Linked DNA regions of Homo sapiens: regions 1, 2, 4, 5, 6 and 7 are each linked to region 3. Evidence: promoter capture Hi-C in 16 types of primary human blood cells and fetal thymus (Javierre and others, 2016). All regions are on one chromosome and are shown on one strand. Each heading gives the region's core, a stretch centred on a gene start or on the middle of the fragment in contact. The rest is flanking DNA. Distances are from core to core; before and after follow the strand shown. Region 1 has its middle 22 kb from the start of LINC00964. Region 2 overlaps SQLE (squalene epoxidase). Region 3 holds the start of TATDN1 (TatD DNase domain containing 1). Region 4 overlaps LOC105375743 (a long non-coding RNA gene). Region 5 overlaps LINC00964 (long intergenic non-protein coding RNA 964). Region 6 overlaps WASHC5 (WASH complex subunit 5). Region 7 has its middle 45 kb from the start of LINC00964.

Region 1 (2,754 bases), core at 208-2,707, 380 kb after region 3:
CAAGTCTAAATCAGTATAGTTTGTCAGCCATTATCTCAAGTAAAACTTGCATTGCATGCAAAAAAAATAGTTCAGCTTGCAACTTAAATAATTGCAGAAGTACTTTTCCTCAAGACAACCATTTTATTTTGGTATGCAGCAGAAATACTTCGTGTGGACTTCCCATTTATTAAGAAATCAGTGTGAAACTGGCTATTACCTCTCCTGTGAGTGATTGAGGGGATGAAGAATCAGTGCCACTGCCTCAATTCATGCTAAGGCAGTTTTTTTTACCTGTCTTTGCTTTGGCATCATACGTGAAAATGGAGAATTTTTGCTTATGGAGAAAAGGCAAATAATGTTTTTGCATTATTGGGGAAATAGCTTTGACCTTGAGGACCCTCTGAAAAGGTCTTAGGCATCCCTAGGGGCCCATGGATCATCCTTTGAGAACCACTGACCTCATGAAATAACTGGTGGCGGAATTCAAGATTCAGCTGGTAGAGAAGAACAGTCATTCCTCTCCATATCAGGAGATTTGTGTTCAGTCCCATCCCTTCTCTGGCCTTAGTTGTATCTTCTGTAAAAGGGGATAATAATATGTCCTCCCTACAGAGCTGTTATGAGAAGTCAGTCATGACAATGTAGTGAAAACATGTGATTGCGGATAAAGCTCTGAGGGAATCAAAGAACTAGACAATTTATTCAGGGTCTGTGAGTATTGTGGGGGAGGAAGAAACCTAAGCCTCCCATCATATTGCCAAGATGACCATCTGCTCTGCCCATGTAACTCAAGCTAGAAGAGGAAGGAGCTGCTACCCATGGTGCCCCCTCCAGGGACCAGCAGTAACCTTGAAGCCTCCTCCGTCTCCCATTCCTTTGCCCTTAGTGACTCCTCAGTTCTGCCCAGATACCCTACATTGCTTTAGTCAATTTACTCTTCTCCTTTCCAAGACAAACACAGGAGAAAATCTAGCTCCAGGGCTAGGCAAAGCATTCCTACACTTGACATGAAAAGCACAATCCATAAAAGGTGAAATTAATCAATTAGACCTCATCAAAATTAAAAGCTTTTGCTCAGCAGAGGCCCTGTTAAGATGAAAAGGCAAGCTAGTCACAGACTGGGAGAAAATATTCGCAAGTCACACATCTTACTAAGAACTTGTGTCTAGAATATATAAAAAATTCTCAAAAGTGAACAGTGAAAAACTGTTTAGAAAATAAAACATAGAAAATGAGCAAAAGAGCGCCAGGTGAGTGCTGCGGACTGAGCCGCCACAGTCCGGCATGAGGGCTTGGGGTCTGGCTACTGCCTGCTTCTAGCTGTAGTGCCATGAATGCCTGCAGAGCTTGCCCTGCCTCCTGACCCATGCAATGGGACTTCCCTGGCCTTGGATCTGACCTGTGTGGGCCCGCCGGCTCTGCGTAGCAGGTGCAATGCATGGGTTTAGAACTTCTGATGTCTCTCAAGCCACTGTAGGCAGTGTAGCCCCAGTATTTACCGCAACAAAATTTGACAAACAGGGAAATGTTACTCCTTTTGAAAGGAAGAAAACTGACTTATACCAAGAGTTAGGTCTTCAAGCCAGAGACTTGAGATTTCAGCATGTAGTGAGCATCACAACCAGAAACGGCAGGTTTATCATGACAATGGAGTATTTGAAAGCTGTGATAACTCCAGAGTGTCTCCTGATATTAGATGATGGTAATTTAAATTTAGAGCAATGGCTGTTCTGGGAACTCCCTTCACAGTTGTCTGGAGAGGGTCAACCTGTTACATACTCTTTACCTTTTGAGTTTAGTGCTATGGAAGCACCCCTGAAATACTGGATCAACCCCCTTTAGAGGAAACGTAGCGTTTTGCAGACACTGACCTTTGAGACCTTAGAAGCTTTCAAACATTCTTCTGTGGACAAAAGCTAACCGCATATTTTACTACGGAATGACAAAAGTCTATCAGAGTTAGAAACAGATATTAAAATTTTCCAAGAGTCAATTTTGGAGATCTTGGGTGAGGAAAAGTTACTAGAAGAGCTCTGTCTATCAAAATGGAGTGACCCACCAGTCTTTGAAAAGAGCAGTACTGGGATTCGCCATGCAGAATGTAAGGTTAGCTGAGAGAAAAGACGAGAGAGAGACCCAAGGTCAGGCAAGGATGTTTATTAACCTGCCAGGCTGCTCCACTACAGTCAGAGGAGGCAGCCCTGAGCTTACAAAATGAGGGGTTTATATTGGGGAAAGAGACCCTGGGGTTGTTTTTCGGTTAACTTTACCACATAGCATCTCGTGACCGGCTTACAATATATTATCTTGTGAAAATAGGAATTTACAAGAGGGTGTTACTTAGGTTTATCCACGTTTCTCGTGACCTCCCCCGTGCCAGCCGGAGGGCTGTAAGCAAGTCTGGTGACCTTGCTGGAGCACCTAGATAAGGGTTCAGGAATGCAGCTGCAGAGTATTCAGCGTAGGGGTCAGCTGCACTGAGAGGCAGGGGCAGGTCCTGGGGTAGCTTGTCCCTAACACAGAAGAGATGGACCTGCTGTTGGAAAACTACTACCTATTGGCTGACGATCTCTTCAATACAGTTTGGGAGCTTAGGGTACTGACTGATGATTCACGAAGTATCATTTTCATCAATCTGGACAGCCACCGTAATGTGATGATGAGGTTGAATCTACTGCTGACCATGGGAATCTTCTCTCTTTCACTCTTTGGACTAATGGGAATTGCTTTTGGAATGATTTTGGAATCCTCCTTGAAGAGGACCCTAGAGTG
Region 2 (2,700 bases), core at 130-2,629, 470 kb after region 3:
ACCCCGTACCCATTGGTATTCACTCCCCATTTCCTCCCAACACTCAGCCCTAGGCTACCCCTAATTTACTTTCTGTGTCTAGATTTGTCTATTTGGGATGTTTCCTAAAGGCATTGTATAGTAAAGCCCTTTGGAACTGGCTTTTCATTTAGCACAATGTTTTTGAGGTTCATTCATGTTGTAGCATGTTTCAGTTCTTCATTTGTTTTTATGGCCAAATAATCTTCCATTGTGTGGCTATATTACATTTTGTTTAGCCATTCATCAATTGATAGATATTTGGGTTGTTTCTACTTTTTGGTTATTACAAGCAATGCTGCTATGAACATCTGTGTGCGAGTTTTTGTGTGGACATATATTTTCATTTTTCTTGGTTATATACCCAAGAGTGATATTGCTGGATTACATAGTAGTTCACGTTTAACTTTTTGAGGAGCTGCTAGACTTGTTTTCCAAAATAGCTGTCCCAGTTACATTCCTTTCAGCAGTGTGTGAGTTCTAATTTCTCCACATCCTTGTCAGTGAACACTTGTATTATCTTTGTGTGCATAGCCATCCTAGTAGTGTGAACTAGGCCTTTTATCATTGTGCTGATTTGCATTTCTCTCATAGATAATGATGTTGAACATCTTTTCATATGCATATAGGCCATTTGTTGTTTGGAGAAATGTATATTTAGACTTTGCATATTTTTTTAATTGGGCAGATTTAAAATTTATGTATTGTTGAGTTTCAAGAGTCCTTTATATATTTTAGGTACAAGTCCCTTATTAGATATGTGATTTGCAAAATTTTTCTCATTCTGTGGGTTTTCTTTCCATTCTTCTTAATGGTTTCCATTGAAGTACACATGGTTTAAATTTTCATGTTTATTTTTTCTTTCGTTGCTTGTGCTTTTGATGTCATATTTAGGAAGGCTTTGTCCAATCTAAGTTCAAAAAGATTTACTCCTATGTTTTCTTTTTCTTTTTTTTTTTTTGAGATGGAGTTTCGCTCTTGTCGCCTAGGCTGGAGTGCGATGGTGCGATCTCGGCTCATTGCAACCTCGGCCTCCCAGGTTCAAGCAATTCTCCTGCCTCAGCCTCCCGAGTAGCTGGGATTATAGGTGCTCGCCACCGTGCCCAGCTAATTTTTGTATTTTTAGTAGAGACGGGGTTTCGCCATGTTGGCCAGGCTGGTCTCAAACTCCTGACCTCAGGTGATCCACCCACCTCAGCCTCCCAAAGTCCTGGGATTACAGGCATGAGCCACCATGCCTGGCCTGTTACTCCTATATTTTCTTCTAAGAGTTTTATAGTTTTACCTCTTAAATTTAGCTCTTTGATCCATTTTGAGTTAAATTTTGTGTCTGTTGAGAGGAAGGGGTCCAGCTTGATTTGTTTGTGTGTGGATATTCAGTTGTCCCAGTATCATTTGTTGAAAAGACTGTTTGTTCCCCAGTGAATTTTCTTGCCCTTGTGGTCAAAATTCCCTTGACTGAAAGGTAAGGGTTTCTTTCAACAATATTTTGTAGTTTTCAGAGTATAAGTTTTGCATTTCTTTTGTTAAATTTATTCCTAAGTATTTTACCTTTTTTGATACTTTTGTAAATGGAATTTTCTTAAAGAGGCAGTGGCATGATTAGACTTTTATTTCAGGAATATACTCTGACATTTTTGTGGAGGATGGTTTGGAGGAAAGTCTAGTAAAACATACACTAAGATTAATTATTCTGTCAATGATGATAAAAGGCCAGAACTAGGGTTGTAAAATGAAAGGTAATGAATAAATTTGGGTAATATCTAGGATGTAGAATGTAAAAAACGTGATGATTTGGATATTATAATGAGAGTGAAATCTCTTGATGTAAATTCCAGGTTTCTGGCTTAGATAGTTTTGCCAGCCATTTGCTGACATAGGAACAGGAAAAGGAGTTAATTGGGTTTTCTTTCTTTTTTCTTAGTTTGTCTTAAAGGTTTGCTGATTTTATCTTTTCAAAGAACCAACTTTTCATTTTGTTATCTTTTGTATTTTTTTCATTTCATTTATTTTGGCTCTGATCTTTATTATTTTCTACTAATTTGGGGTTTGGTTTGCTCTTGCTTTTCTGGTTGAGATGCACTGTTAGGTTGTTTATTTGATGTTTTCCTGCTTTTTTGATGTAGGCACTTACTGCTAAAAACTTTCCCTTTAAGTATTGCTTTTGCTGTGTCTCACAGGTTTTATATATTGTCTTTGCATTTTTATTTCTATCAAGAAATTTTTATATTTACTTCTTAATTTCTTCATTGACCCACTGGTCATTCAAGAGCATGTGGTTTAATTTCCATGTGTTTGTATACACAGTCTCCAAAGTTCCTCATAGTACTGATTTCTAGTTTTATTCCACTGTGGTCAGAGAAGATACTTGATATGATTTCAATTGTTTTTTGAATTTTTTAAGCCTTGTTTTGTGGCCTACCCATGATCTATCCTTGTGAATGATCGATTTGCTGAGGAGAAGAATGTGTATTCTGCAGTTGTTGGATGAAATGTTCTGTGAATATTTGTTAGGTCTGTTTGGCCTGTAGTCCAGATTAAGTCTGATGTTTGTTGTTTATCTGTCTGGATGATCTATTCAGTGCTGAAGGTGGGGTGTTGAAGTCTCCAGCCATGATTGTATTGGGGTCTGTCTCCTTAGCTCTAATAATATTTCCTTTATATATCTGAGTGCTCCGGTAT
Region 3 (2,951 bases), core at 207-2,706:
TATAACATAAACACACTTTTAAAAAGTTATGTGGCCTTTCTTTACGGAGTACTTCATGGCTCTTTATTCCATCTCCCTCATCAATTATATCAAAGGTTAGGATGGAAAGGCTAAGACACGGCAATGTCTTATTTGACAACCCCTCCCCAAACCCCTACTCCAGGCTTTCCCACAGCAATTTCAAAACCTTTTTCCTGGCACTTAACATATTCTCCCCTGCATTTGCTTTTGACTGTACAGTACATAGGTCTTAGGTCTCCAGTCTGAAAACTGCACCACTAGATTTTACAGTTCCACAGGACTTAGCACAACGTCTTTGAAAAAAAAAAATACTGCTTAAATAACTCTCAGATCTAAATGTATAATCCTAATCTCTTGATTGCCAGACCACATTCCCAATTGCCCAGATATCTCTACCTGGATGTCCTATAATTATCTCAAACTTAACCTAATCCAAATGGACCTGGGTACCTCTCTTCACCGCCAAACTAGTCATGCTTCCATTTCATATTTAAGTACTTTTCCAAACCCTGAGTCATCTTTGTTCACTCTCTACTACCGGCCATGAACACTCAGCTGCTAAATGCTGCACACATCTCTTCCATTTCTCTCTCTTTTCCATTACCCTAGTTTAAGCTCTTGAAATGCTTCCCTACCTCTCCCTATTTCCCACAAAACCTACATAATAGCTATCAGGATTACCTTGCTAAAGCAGAGGTGTGATCACTGTCATTTCCCACCTTCAGGTAGCTGGAAACCCCACAAAACGAGGATCATGCCCATTTAAATCCCGCAGCATTCTCCCTCTCGTTCTACTGATGCCGACTGGATCATTGTACTTGCCAAGTACAGTTTGTTTTTCTCCCCATTACTTGTGTTTTCTAGTTTCTCCACCAGATGGTGATGACAGTACAACTGGGAGCTTTGTGCCCTGTGTTCCTAGGCCAGTGCCAGGCCCACTTGAGGCGCTCACTAACTATGATATGAACGAATGAATGCTTGAGTGAATTGGTCCCCAGAAGCGGTCAGCCTCTCCGCCAAGGCAGAGGGGAAGGGCCGGGAGGTGCACGTGGGATGAATGGAAACATAGTGATTGGCCTTTTTGGAGTTTTCTTCTTAAAAAACTGAATACATTACAGATGTTGAAAACAGCACAAAAATCATAACTGTACGGCTTGTTAATTTTTACAAATAAATACACCCTCGTGAATCCAGAACCTAGATCAAGAACCAGAGCATTACCAGCACCCAGAAACCTCCCCGCGCCCTCCTCCACTGAGCGGCCCTTTCAACCCTTACAATGCCGGAGGGCGCAATTCCTGGGTCCTGTGACCTTGGTGACCGACGCCCGGGACAAGTCAGAAAGACCCAAGGGCGTGGAAAACGCTCCTCTTACCGATAAACTTGAAGCGACTCATGACTGCGCATGGAGGACCTCCCCAGCGGAAGCGGAAGTGGCCGCCGGCAACTCCGCCCTTCCGGCTGGCCCCGCTCAGTCACCCGCAGCAGGCGTGCAGTTTCCCGGCTCTCCGCGCGGCCGGGGAAGGTCAGCGCCGTAATGGCGTTCTTGGCGTCGGGACCCTACCTGACCCATCAGCAAAAGGTGTTGCGGCTTTATAAGCGGGCGCTACGCCACCTCGAGTCGTGGTGCGTCCAGAGGTAAGGGATGGGGACCCAGGACTCGGGGAGGTGACCCTCGGGGCCCCATGGAGGTGGAGAGGCCCCTGGGTACCTGGAGGTTCAAGGACTTCGGGAACGGAATTGGAAGGTGGCCTCTCGCTTCACAGAATCCTATGGTAGACCCGGGTTCAAATCCAGGCTTCGCCACTTATGGCCGGGAGACCTTGTAGAGTTGCTTGTCGGGTCTGGGCGTCAGCTTTTTGTTTAGTAAAACGGACGCACGACCAGCGCAGAGGGTCGCAGGAAAATTAAGTGAAATAAAGGAAAGTGCCTAAAATTGTAATTGTCATGGGTCCAGCGCTCGCTCAATCGTTTTCTTCACGATCTTCTCCTTTCCAATATTAACAGCAATAAACTATGCATTATTTTCTTCAGTCTGCAAAACTCTAGGAGTTAGGAATTATCTTAAGCTTATTTTACAGATAAGAAGATGAGCACAGCTGGTAACTTGCGCAAGGTGATAGAGTTTCTAAGTGTCTGAGCCAGGGTTAAAATTTAGGTCTTTCTCCAAAGCATCATCATTCTCCCACCCCTCCCATTAGCTTTTCTCTTTTTAGCTTCATCTAGTCCTTTTCATTACCTTTACATCTTTTTCACCTCTTACATAATTCTCTTTCGACCTCTATCCGTCTGAGACTAGTCTGAGAACATAGTGTTAAAATGTGTAGATTTTAATCACCTAAATTCATTGCAGGGTGGGCTAACAACCCAAGATGTGTGAGTGCCTCGCCTCCACTCCAGTCTTACGACTCTCCAAACGTAGTTTTATAAGAAGGCCTTCTGGGAAAAAAACTCTATGGAAAATGGAGTAGGCCTGGAAGAATTACAGAGGGTACCCTCGAAGCCCAGATTGCATATATGTGACTATTAGAAAATCACTGACATACTTCTCTTGATTTGGCAGGAAGATGGCCAAGTACAATGTGATGGGATTGTTAGTTTCTTCCTTGAGTTTTCCTTATTTATTTATTGATTTGACAGAATTTGCAATTCAGATTCTATGCTCTATGCTAAATATATAAATGTTAGTAAATCCATTTTTGAGCAGCAGCAGCTCACGGATTAGTGGGGAAAATGGACATGTAAACAAATCGATGATGAAGGAAGTTGAGCCATCAGGGATTCAGGTATCCCAACACAAATGGTAAATGTTTGAGGTGATGAATATCCAAATTACCCTGATTTGATCATTATACATTATATGGATGTATTAAAATATCACATGTACCCCATAAATAGGTACAATAATTATGTGTCAAAAAAAGTTAAAC
Region 4 (2,700 bases), core at 28-2,527, 310 kb after region 3:
CCTTCTTTGGATTTAGAGAGAGGTATAAGTAAATGCCAAGTCCCATGTTACGGTGTGGTAATACTTGTTTGGTCCACTCATAATGGCATTTATTTTTTAAATCAGATCTACTGGGACTATAATGCTTCAAACCACGGGAGTAAGCCTTGCATGTGACCACTTCAGCTTCCACAGCAGGAAAAGGGAGGGAGATATTTTTAGAAGGGAGACCTCTCAGTGCCCCCTAAACCAGGCCGGAGGCACTGCCTGGCCCCAGAGGACCGTTGGCCTTGCCTATCAGCTTTCATCGTGGAGGAGGCGTGGGTGGACCGAGGTACCACAAGTTGCCAGGAATGCCTGACCAGAAACTGCTCTTGGGTGGGTCCCAGAGCTGCCTCCCCTTCACTTGACCCTAGGGCTGCTGGCTTCCTGGCCTTGTGAAATCTTCTAGAGGCAGGAAGAAGCCTGAGCGCTCCCTGACGCCACTTGAGTTTGACTTCATGGGTTTGCCGTGTGCCCCTGAACAAACCAGTTATCCTCTCTATGCCTTATTTCGGTATGCCCATCTAACACTAATTACCACCCCTCCCTGACTGCCCCCAAACCTTACCAGAAGAAATGGCATGAAGTTACGGAGACACTTTGAACTCATTGGCAAATTGTGCACTGTGAGGGGAAAGCACTGTGGCGGCCATTTTCTTTTCTTCCTTGAGAAAGTCCCTTGCTAATCATTAAGACTGGCTGAGTAAGCTTGTTCCTTTACATTTGGTGAGTAAGAAAGCCCCTCATGCTACCTCATCATATGTTCTTCCTCTTTTTCATGGCTTATCAACACTCCCTTCTGTAGGACATGCTGAGGAATTAGTATGAGTCAAAAGGAAGAATGACAAATAGGTGGTATTTCTGGTCTGGAGTTTGGAGGGCAAGTTCAGTCCAAAAGTTAGCTGCTTCAACCATCATGAAAGGTACAGAAACTCTAGGATGAATACACTTAGTATTTTTTATTATTTATTTATTTATTTTTTAGACGGAGTCTCACTCTGTCTGTCCCCCAGGCTGGAGTGCAGTAGTGCAATCTCGGCTCACTGCAACCCCCACCTCCCGGGTTGAAGCAATTCTCCTGCTTCAGCCTCTCAAGTAGCTGAGATTACAGTACACTTTGTACTTTAATATGCAAACTGCCTGCCTGCTCCAGAGAAGCAGCCTTTGTTCCTCAGTTCATCGCAACACTCAGCCTGTCAGTCAGGTTGTGGGATCCCTCCTATCCAGGAACTGTATGCTGTTGTCCCGGTTCTGACACTTTCCCTCTGAGTCCTTGGACACCTTACCTAACCTCTTGGAAGCTCCTGTCTGTGAAGGGTGTGCACAGAGAGCTTCGGTAGCCTGCGAAGCAGCCATTTTCACTTCCACGGAGCAGGTATTTTATTGCATTATTTCGAGCTCAAGGACTCCAGAATTAGATCCCCAAAATATGCCTGAGAAACATTTACTCCCCAGGAGCTCAAACTAAATAATGAAAACCATTGAAAACAACCAGGCAGCCCATGTCCTGAAGTCACCTTTTCCTGGGAGGTCCAGGAGAGTTTTTCCTACTTTCCCTGAGTTATCCTTCCCTTTCCTTCCCTTCCCTTTCTTCCCCAGAGGGCGATGCATGTTAATCAAGGAGCCTGCATTTGCGCAGGTATAGACAATTACACATTTACTGGGTCAGTTGCACCTGGGGGGGACGCCAATCTGTAAAGCAGAACCAAACCTCTTGCCTTCAGTCCTCAGAAGTTCTTCTGGTTAAAATCATCTAAAAAGTTGTTTCAAGTCTCCAGAACAGCTGAGATCAGCAAAAATAAATGAAGCTTCTTCTGTGTGGGTGCAGATGCTGGCCTGGGTGCTGGAATATGGAAATGAGGAAGATCCTGCCTGAGGATTTCATGACAGGTGAGGGGGAGAGAGGCCTGAGGAAGTTACCACCGGGGAAGGTGACAAGTGCAGTGATAGGATAAATACGAAGTGCAAAGAGAAGACAGACAAGAAGTTCAGCTAGCTAAGAAATGTGTTAATAACACCTTGATCAATCATTCCTCCACTTTTTTTTTCTTTTGAGAGTCTCATTCTGTCACCCCACCCAGAGTGCAGTGGCAGGAACACAACTCATTGCTACTTCAACTTTCTGGGCTCAAGCGATCCTCCTGCCTCAGCCTCCTGTGTAGCTGGGGCCACGTGTATTGCACCACCAAGCCTGGCTTATTTTTTAATTTCTTTTGTAAAGACAGGGTCTCACTATGTTGCCCAGACTGGTTTCAAACTCTTGGACTTAAGCAATCCTCTCATCTTTGCCTCCCAAAGTGCTGCGATTACCGACGTGAGCCACTGTGCCCAGCCTCACTTTAAAAAAAAAAAAAGGTTATGAAGCATCTCAACACAAGACCTCCTTTGCTCATCACAACCACCCAGTGAAGCAGGCAAGACAACAGAAACTCCCCACCTGTGATAGATGTGAGGCCTGAAGTCTCCCACATACCCACGGCAGATGCAACGCACAGCGGTGACCAATGGTAGGGATAACAAGTATTGCTTCCGCCCATTCAGTACTTCTTGCATGCCAGATCTGTGCTAAGTGCTAGATGAACACAGTCTCTTTTCATTCTCATAGCTCTTTAAAACAGGTATTGTTTTCTTTTAAAACAAATTGTTTTGTTAAATATAAATATCATGTACCTTATATAT
Region 5 (2,700 bases), core at 47-2,546, 410 kb after region 3:
ATTATAATCCTTGTGGTAGGCAGAATAATGGCCTACAAAGTTGTCTATGCCTGCATCAGTGGAATCTATGAACATGGAATCTTGCATGGGAAAAGGGAATTTGCAGATTTGATTAGAGACCCCAAAATAGAAAGATTATCTTGGATTATGTAATAGCTAAAATTGAGTGTCAACTTGATTGGATTGAAGGATGCAAAGTATTGTTCCTGGGTGTATCTGTAAAGGTGTTGCCAAAGGAGGTTAACATTTAAGTCAGTGGACTGGGAGAGGCAGACCTACCCTCAATATGGATGGGCACGATCTAAGCAGATGCCCCCATGGCTAGGATAAAGCAGGCAGAAGAGCCTGGAAGGACTAGACTGGCTGGGTCTTCCAGCCTTCCTGTTTCTCCCTTGCTGGATGCTTCCTGCCCTCGAACATTAGACTCCAAGTTCTTCAGCTTTTGGACTCTTGGGCTTACACCAGTGGTTTGCCAGGGCCTCTCAGGCCTTCTGCCACAGACTGAAGGCTGCACTGTTGGCTTCCCTACTTTTGAGGTTTTGAGACTCAAACTGACTTCCTTGCTTGCTACTCAGCTTGCAGACAGCCTATTGTGGGACTTCAACTTGGCATTGTGTGAGTCAATACTCCTAATAAACTCCCTTTTATATATACATCTATCCTTTTAGTCCTGTTCCTCCAGAGAACACTGACTAATACAGATTATCTAGACAGGCCCAGTGTAATCACATGAGTCCTTAAAAATAGAAATCCTTCCTGACTACAGAGAACCAGAGAGATGGAAGCATGAGAAGGACTCAACCTGTGTTGTTGGCTTCCAAATGGAGGAAGGGATCCAGGAGACAAGGAATGTGAGTGGCCTCTAGAAGACAGAAAAGGCAATAAAATGGATTCACCCTTAGAGCCTCCAGGAAGCAATGCCACCCTGTCAACACCTTGATTTTTAGCCCAGTGAGTCCTGTGTCAGACTCCTGACATAAAGAACTGTTAGATAATGCATTTATGTTGTTTTAAGCCACTAAAATGTGATTTGTCTCAGCAGCAATAGAAAACTACCGTAATCCCTTTGAATAAAATAGGAAGGTGTACGTCCATAAAGATAGAAATAAATGAATAAATTGAAAGTTTGATGAGGAACAGGATATCTATTTCAAAATAACTCTGCACAAAACACTTATTAATTACAAAGGGTTAAAGAGCAATTTGGAAGTTATTCCTAGTTCTCTGCTAGGAGGAGCCTAGTGGATACCACCCTAATCAAGTGATCTAACTGAATATCAACAGCAGTGAGACAGATGTAAATTATGCCTCAGCCAATAGTATCAGTGAGAAGAATACAACACTTCTGTGGTATTTCTACCCAAGATACATAACTTAAGGAAACATCAGAGACATTGTAAGAAACTCAGATTGAGGGACATTCTATGTAATAACTGGTCAGCTATCATCAAAGTTGCCAAGGTCATTTAAGTTAAGGGAAGACAAAGGAACTTTTCCAAGCTAAAGAACACCAAAAAGACTTGACAATTAAATGCAATGTGTGGTTTTGAACTGGATTACTTTGTTGGAATCACTGGCAAAACTTGAATGGGTTCTGAGGATTAGACTGCAGTTAGTATCAATGTTAATTTCCTGATTTTAATGGTTATATTTTGGTTATGTAGAAAAATTTTTGAAAAGTCATACTAACAAAAGATAAATAATTATGGTAGCTTGTCTCCAAGATGGCTGACCAGCATAAATTTCTTCTCCCTATATCCACACAAGCCAGGGTTGCAGTTTATTCCTTTGTTCCCTTGAATGTGGCCTGATTTGTGACTGCTTTGGTCAACAGAATACTACTAAAGTCATGCCGTGTGACTTCTGAAGCTAGCTCCTAAGAAGTCCTTGCAGCTTCTGCCTGCGACTCTTAGAACACTTGCTTTGAAGGATGCCAGATGCTGTCTTAAAAGTCTGAGCACTCTGAAACCATCATGCTGTGAGGAAGCCCAAGCTAACCACATGGGCAAAAAAGATGCCCTCTGACTGCCACCATTTGAGACACTCTAATTAAGAACTGCCTCATTGAGCCCATGAGGCCCTGTGAATGATAATAATAAATTGTTTTTAACCACTATGTTTTTGGATTTGTTATAAGTTTATAGATAACAAGAAAAAGTTATATTAGCATGGTAATAAAATTATGGATATGTGTAAGTTTGGTGTTTTGTTTCTTTTTTTTTTTTACACTAAGCCTATATTACTGTTGTAATTTAGGAAATCACTTGTTTTCCTCCAGCACTTCAATGTAAGAGTGGCACTACTTAGAATGTACTTCTTAAGATATGGCTGTACATAGAACAAATTATTCACCATGATTTCCTTAGCATCCAACAGAATACCTGAGTGTAGTAGATGCTTAGTAAATAGTTGTTGAATAATTGACATATGGGAGAGTGCTGGATAAACTCTTTGAGAATGACATTATCTACTTCGATTTATGTGAGTCTGGCATCATATTTTTTTTGCTGTCTTTAAAGAAACCAAGAAGAAAGGCTGTGTGTTGAAGTTATGATTTATTGCTTTTCTCCCCTATACATTTATTTCTTCACATGATCATCTCCTCTGCTTTCTTCTGTGACTAACTTGCTCTATCTGTGTGAACATTTTGCCACTATTCTGCTCCCTTTATACCTGCCTAGGCAAAGATTGCACAAAAAA
Region 6 (2,911 bases), core at 201-2,700, 500 kb after region 3:
AAAAAAATGGATAAACTGGACACCATCAACAGTAAAAACTTCTGCTCATTAAAGTTACCAGTAAAAAAATACATAGATAAGTCACAATATTCTCAAAACATATCTAATAAGGAACTTGTATCCATAATATATACATAACTACTACAACTCTGTAATAAAAAAAAAATTTAAAAACGAGCATAAGACTAGAACAGGCACTTCGCAGAGAAGGATATAAGGAATGGCCAATAAGCACATGAAAAAGTGCTCAAAATCATTAATCATCAGGGAGGCAAATTAAAGCTGCAACAAGATACCATAGATACCCATCAGGATGGCTAAAATGGGCTGGGTTCAGTGGCTTATGCCTGTAATCTTGGCACTTTGGGAGGCCAAGGTGGGTGGAACACTTGAGGTCAGGAGTTCGAGACCAGCCTGGCCAACATGGTGAAACCTGTCTCTACTAACAATACAAAAATTACCCGAGCATGGTGATGCATGCTTGTAGCCTGTAATTCCAGCTACTCAGGTGGCCGAGGCAGAACTGCTTGAACCCAGGAGGTGGAGGTTGCAGTGGGCCGAGATTACGCTACTGCACTTCAGCCTGGGTGACAGAGTGAGACTCTGTTTCAGAAAAAAAAAAAGAATGGCTAAAATGAAAATGACTGACGCCACCAAATAATGGCGAGGATGTGGACTACACATATACTCACTCTTGGTGAGAGTGTAACTGGCACAACCACTTTGGACAAAGGGTTGGCAGTTTCTTATCAAGTTAACTGGTTAGACAGACCCTCAGGTCCCATATTTGACTTCTTGTGAAGACCGGAAAATCTTCCCCAAACCAGAGAAGCCTAAACAAGTGATCCTGAATAACCTAACCTAGGCCTTGGCAATTCAGAACATGGAGGAAGAATCCTAACAGGACTCAGTATGGAGAAATAATCCTTTCCAGGTGGAAAGCAAGAGTGATGTTAACAACAAACACTTCTACAACTAGCACTACACCACGAAGCTTCTTTCTTCAAACACAGACCAAGCCAGGTATGCATTTCATAGGCCAATGCTGAGAACGGTGTTTACAAGGTTAAATAAATGTTTTTCGGATATACAGTTTCAAGGCTCTCTTTACAGTTTCAATAATCAAGACATTATTGGCATAAGAAAAGACAAACACATCAATGGAACAGAATAGTCTAGAGATAGTCTCACCCTTATATGAGCAACTGAATACCCACAAAGATACCAAACAATTGTTCCTTCCTCAGTCCTACTGTAATTTAGTTCCTGCATTAACACATCAGTCTTATTGATGAGAAGAATTATAGTCAGTTATAAACACCACATTTCTAGGATACATAAAGATTTTGTTGTGTTATGTTTTAAGATCTGGGAATTCCAGGGAGAGTGATACTTTCCATAAGCAGCTTTACAATCAAGGTGCCAGGCCCTAATCATATACACAATGAAAAAAAAATTAGAATGAGAAGTCAACAAAAAGTTATTCTTTAATGAAAAGAAGGTTCTTTCTGCACTGACAGTTCATTATCAAGAATCATATATTCCTATTGAATAATAACATAGAACAGAGAGAGAACATGAATCTCTGAATCTTCAGATGAACCTTTACATTACACTTGGGATGGCCCTTTAAATTGATTTTGACCAATATATAGAAAGGGACTCAGCACCTGTTGGGCACTCAGTTTGCGGTGACTTGGCCAAAGTCACATAGGTGATAAGTGGTGAAGCCAGATTCCAAACACACATTGGTTCCCTCCCTCCTACAGCAAGTATTGTTTGAGGAGATCATGCTCTGCCTTCTGTGACAATCACAGGCATTGTCATGGAAGCAGTGTCTAGAATCAATGATTACTTTTGAATGAGAGAATAAAAACATTAAAGAGATTCCACATTTTCACCCTAAAAAAGCTTATGAAATAGGAAAGTACTGTAAGGAAGAAATATATTTAGGAATCTCTAGTTAAGAAACAATGATTACATTTGTAGAAATGCTCTTATAATGCTTTTAAAGTAAACTAAAGTCTATAGTGGATTTTTAAAAATGTCATTTAGCTGGATACAAAGTTTGAAGGCAGAGGAAACACTTTGTTATCTATTATGTAACTACAAAAATATTCTGACGAATGACAAAAATAAATTAGGGTTATATTCCTGGAGAGAACAGACATATTGAAAGGCTTTGGTGTCTCTTGTTTGTACAGAATATTCTGACATACAATCATACATAAAGTATTAAATGTTCATGTATAAATATTAGTCTTATCTCCTTAACTATATTGTTACTTTTCCCATCATGGTTCCAGATACACAGCTGGCACATGCATCCTGTTGAAAGAACAGAACATCAACCAAAAAAAGTTTCTTTCACACCACAATTAGCTGCCTAAACATTAAAGAAGAGAATCAAAACAAAGGTCCCTCACATTCTACAAGCTGGACAATGAACCCTTACTGAGGTAGACCATACTTTGTTGATTTTAAATCCACTGTCTAGGGCTGGGCACAATGGCTCACGCCTGTAATCTCAGCCCTTTAGTTGCCGAGGCAGGTGGATCGCTTGAGCCTAGGAGTTTGAAACCAGTCTCGGCAACATGGCAAAACCCTGTTGCTACAAAAAATACAAAAAAATTAGCTGGGCATGGCGGTGTGCACCTATAGTCCCAGCTACTCAGGAGGCTGAGGTGGAAGGATTCTTGAGCACGAGAGGTCAAGGCCATAGTGAGCTGAGATTGTGCCACTGTACTCCCATCTGAGTGACTGAGTGAGACCTTGTCTCAAAAAATAAATAAAATAAAATAAATAAATAAGTGTACTTAAAAAAAAAATAAATCCGGCCAGGTGTGGTGGCTCATACCTGTAATCCCAGCACTTAGGGAGGCCAAGGTGGGCGGATCACCTGAGGTCAGGA
Region 7 (2,700 bases), core at 101-2,600, 360 kb after region 3:
AAGAAGTTGCCTTTTCTTTTGTCCCTAAGCAGAGAGCTATTAAAAGTTATGGCAAAAACCGCGATTACTTTTGCACCAACTAAAATAATAGCTGATGACCTAAGACATCTCTCTGCACTCACTTTCTGTCTCGGCTGTGCTTTTCACTCTTCCTCCTTCCTCCAAATGTTAGGAAAATGAGTCCAACAAGAAATACATCCATAAAGCAAAGGCATTCTGGTGACTCCTGTACACATCATGACTGTCCACCCAAAGCCTGGCATTGCCTCTAGGAAGTCCTTAAGACACAACTGTCAGTAATGAGAAAATCTAGACAACTTCAGTCAAATCAGCAGACATCATCCTTACCTCTTCTTTAGCCTAACCCTGGATACATACTTTTCCACGATAACAGTCAAGTTTATTTACACTGACTCTCTTGTAAATACCTAAGGTGTTTGTCTCTGTCTTCTACTAGACTGAGTTTCTTAAGGGAAAGGGACTTGTTCTCCTTTTAATCCCTACTGCCTGGCATAGGGCTCAATTCATAGTCACCTCCTGGTAAATTCTTAATGGAATGAACACATTAATGAATGAATTTACAAAAACTTCTTCCAGGTACCCAGGACTAAATAGCCTGTTTGGTTTGTCTGTTTTTTTCTTAATAACATCCAAAGATGCTACCTCTCTCCTTCCTTTATCTTTATGAGGCAGTCTGGTTAGATGGCAAGGAAAAGAAAACGTGGGAAGAAGGTAAGTGAATTACACCAGGATCTGAAAGGAAACAGATAATGCTAGTGATTGTTCTTGTCAGCTTGTAATAGGCAGGATATAAATACACGTTAGAGAGGAGGAAATTCAAAACAGGTACAGGGAAGCAGGTTCAAAGCTTTGAAGACTAGTGTGTTCAGAACCTGCTTACTCAGGCAATTAGACCGTGTCATTGTCTTGAGATAAAATTCTGTGAGCCCGGGAGCCCCACCCCTTCCTGCTCATTTCTTTAGAGAAGAAATTATCTTTCAAGGGGTGAGGTCTGGTTTAAGGATAAGTGCTTTCCCCTTTATCACGAGCCCAAGTTATTGGAGAGGAGTGCTGCCTTTCTTCTTGGTGGCCCCCAATCCCACCTTTTTTGCTAAACCTTAATTTTTGAAACATTAATGAAACATAAAACCCCGGATTATAGCTTTCACTGGACCTACCATGAACTACTTAAATTTATCTTGTTTTTGTTAATGTAGTTGTTTTCATCTAGAAAAAAAAAAACAGTCGATAACACACAGATGGGTATTTTGAGTTCAGGAAAATGACTTCCCTTGTCCGTGGCAACTTGTAACCAAAGGACTCAAAGTCCTTTATCCTGCTATCCTGTGAACTAGAGGGTAGCTACCGTAGACGACAAGATGGAGTGTGCAAATTGTGCTTCCTGGAACTCCAGGGGTTCGGAAGCCATCACTTTGCAAGGGAAACCAACAGCCTGATGCTGATGTCTGGTTAAACTCCACACCAGAAAGACAGGGTGTGCAACGGGAAATGGAGGGGCAAAAATCAAGTGCTTGGCTATCATGCAGCTAGCCAGCTTGACAAAATGCAGAAGGACGCAGAGAGAAATTCTTAAGAGCCCAGCCAGCTCCTGCAGACCTTATGGAGCTGCTCTGCACCTCCGTGCATCCTAGTTGCCTGAGTTCTGTGTTCCAAATGTGGAAAATGCCACTGCCTCCTGTTCCTAAGAACTCCCAGGAAGAACTCTGCAGGCTCAGTCTTTTTTAACTGGCATGCAGAGTGCACATAATGGCTAGTGCATGATGTCATGCACATCCGTGTGAAGAGACCACCAACAGGCTTTGTGTGAGCAATAAAGCTTTTTAATCACCTGGGTGCAGGTGGGCTGAGTCCGAAAAGAGAGTCAGCAAAGGGAGATAGGGATGGGGCAGTTTTATAGGACTGGGGTAAGCAGTGGAAAGTTACAGTTAAAGGTGGTTATCTATTGTCAGCCTATGAGGGGGTCACAAGGTGCATGGTGGGGAGATCATAAGACTCATTGTCCAGAAGAAGAATGTCACAAGGTCGATCGATCGATCAGTTGGGGCAGGGAAGGAACAAGTCATAATGGAATGTCATAAGGTTGTTCAATCTGTTAAGACAAGAGCTGGCTGTTTCACTTCTTTTGCACTTCTGATTGCCTCAGGCCATCTGGATGTATATGTGCAGGCTTGGGCTCAGAGGCCTGACACATGAAGCAAAGCACTTGCTTACATCTGTTTGCGTATTTTATTTGTTTGTTTGTTTGTTTGTTTTTAGAGCTAGGGTCTTGCTCTGTTGCCCAGGCTGCAGTGCAGTGGCATGACTGTAGCTCACTGCAGCCTTGAATTCCAGGGTTCAAGCAATCTCCCCAAGTAGCTACGACTACAGACATATGCCACCACTCCTAATTTTAAAAAATATATTTATATTTTTTAGAGACAGGGTCCTGCTATTTCCCAGGCTGGTCTCGAACTCCAGAACTCGGAGGCCCTAGCCATCCTCTCAAGTTGTTGAGATTACAGGTGTAAGCCACTGCACCTGGCGGTTGTGTATTAGATATTTAGATGTGTGGATACAGTTGTGTATTAGATATTTAGATATCTAAATACGTGGGCTCCAAGTCCCTGATTTATTTCTAGAGCAACTGGATAAAGGGCTCAGGAAAACTTCCTCAGCTGGCTTGTGGTGCTAAAGAAAGAT

The links. Contacts are between HindIII fragments. The CHiCAGO score rates a contact against its expected background, and 5 or more counts as called.
Region 1: a fragment that was not itself captured here is called in contact with the fragment with the promoter of TATDN1 in region 3 in 6 of 17 cell types (endothelial precursors, naive B cells, total B cells and 3 more); the score reaches 8.1 in endothelial precursors.
Region 2: a contact is called between a fragment that was not itself captured here and the fragment with the promoter of TATDN1 in region 3, in 9 of 17 cell types (megakaryocytes, erythroblasts, total B cells and 6 more). The highest score is 10.1, in megakaryocytes.
Region 4: a fragment that was not itself captured here is called in contact with the fragment with the promoter of TATDN1 in region 3 in 1 of 17 cell types (M1 macrophages); the score reaches 5.9 in M1 macrophages.
Region 5: a fragment that was not itself captured here is called in contact with the fragment with the promoter of TATDN1 in region 3 in 5 of 17 cell types (naive CD4 T cells, total B cells, total CD8 T cells and 2 more); the score reaches 7.0 in naive CD4 T cells.
Region 6: a contact is called between a fragment that was not itself captured here and the fragment with the promoter of TATDN1 in region 3, in 13 of 17 cell types (erythroblasts, naive B cells, total B cells and 10 more). The highest score is 11.8, in erythroblasts.
Region 7: a fragment that was not itself captured here is called in contact with the fragment with the promoter of TATDN1 in region 3 in 1 of 17 cell types (total B cells); the score reaches 6.3 in total B cells.

The regions. Positions count from the first base shown.
Region 1 is chr8:124,919,116-124,921,869 of GRCh38, forward strand. It overlaps the pseudogene MRS2P1. Among named protein-coding and RNA genes, the nearest start is that of LINC00964, 22 kb to the right of the region's middle. The HindIII fragment of the contact is 821 bases long and covers 1,048-1,868 here.
Region 2 is chr8:125,012,391-125,015,090 of GRCh38, forward strand. The region is part of intron 7 of SQLE (squalene epoxidase); the gene reads left to right. Among named protein-coding and RNA genes, the nearest start is that of SQLE, 15 kb to the left of the region's middle. The HindIII fragment of the contact is 3,605 bases long and covers 1-2,700 here.
Region 3 is chr8:124,537,629-124,540,579 of GRCh38, forward strand. TATDN1 (TatD DNase domain containing 1) reads right to left here and starts at 1,457. Exons shown (of 12, transcript NM_032026.4): 1 at 1,397-1,457. The coding sequence starts at 1,418. NDUFB9 (NADH:ubiquinone oxidoreductase subunit B9) reads left to right here and starts at 1,495. Exons shown (of 4, transcript NM_005005.3): 1 at 1,495-1,659. The coding sequence starts at 1,559. RefSeq lists an enhancer at 1,318-1,387. The HindIII fragment of the contact is 3,000 bases long and covers 1-2,088 here.
Region 4 is chr8:124,847,426-124,850,125 of GRCh38, forward strand. All of the region lies in intron 1 of LOC105375743 (a long non-coding RNA gene), which reads right to left. Among named protein-coding and RNA genes, the nearest start is that of MIR4662B, 27 kb to the left of the region's middle. RefSeq lists enhancers at 338-1,537, 682-976 and a silencer at 682-976. The HindIII fragment of the contact is 1,100 bases long and covers 728-1,827 here.
Region 5 is chr8:124,948,982-124,951,681 of GRCh38, forward strand. LINC00964 (long intergenic non-protein coding RNA 964) reads left to right here. Exons shown (of 4, transcript NR_027321.1): 4 at 1,835-2,114. Among named protein-coding and RNA genes, the nearest start is that of LINC00964, 8.3 kb to the left of the region's middle. The HindIII fragment of the contact is 6,113 bases long and covers 1-2,700 here.
Region 6 is chr8:125,033,893-125,036,803 of GRCh38, forward strand. All of the region lies in intron 26 of WASHC5 (WASH complex subunit 5), which reads right to left. Among named protein-coding and RNA genes, the nearest start is that of WASHC5-AS1, 5.3 kb to the right of the region's middle. The HindIII fragment of the contact is 917 bases long and covers 993-1,909 here.
Region 7 is chr8:124,895,587-124,898,286 of GRCh38, forward strand. No RefSeq gene overlaps it. Among named protein-coding and RNA genes, the nearest start is that of LINC00964, 45 kb to the right of the region's middle. The HindIII fragment of the contact is 969 bases long and covers 867-1,835 here.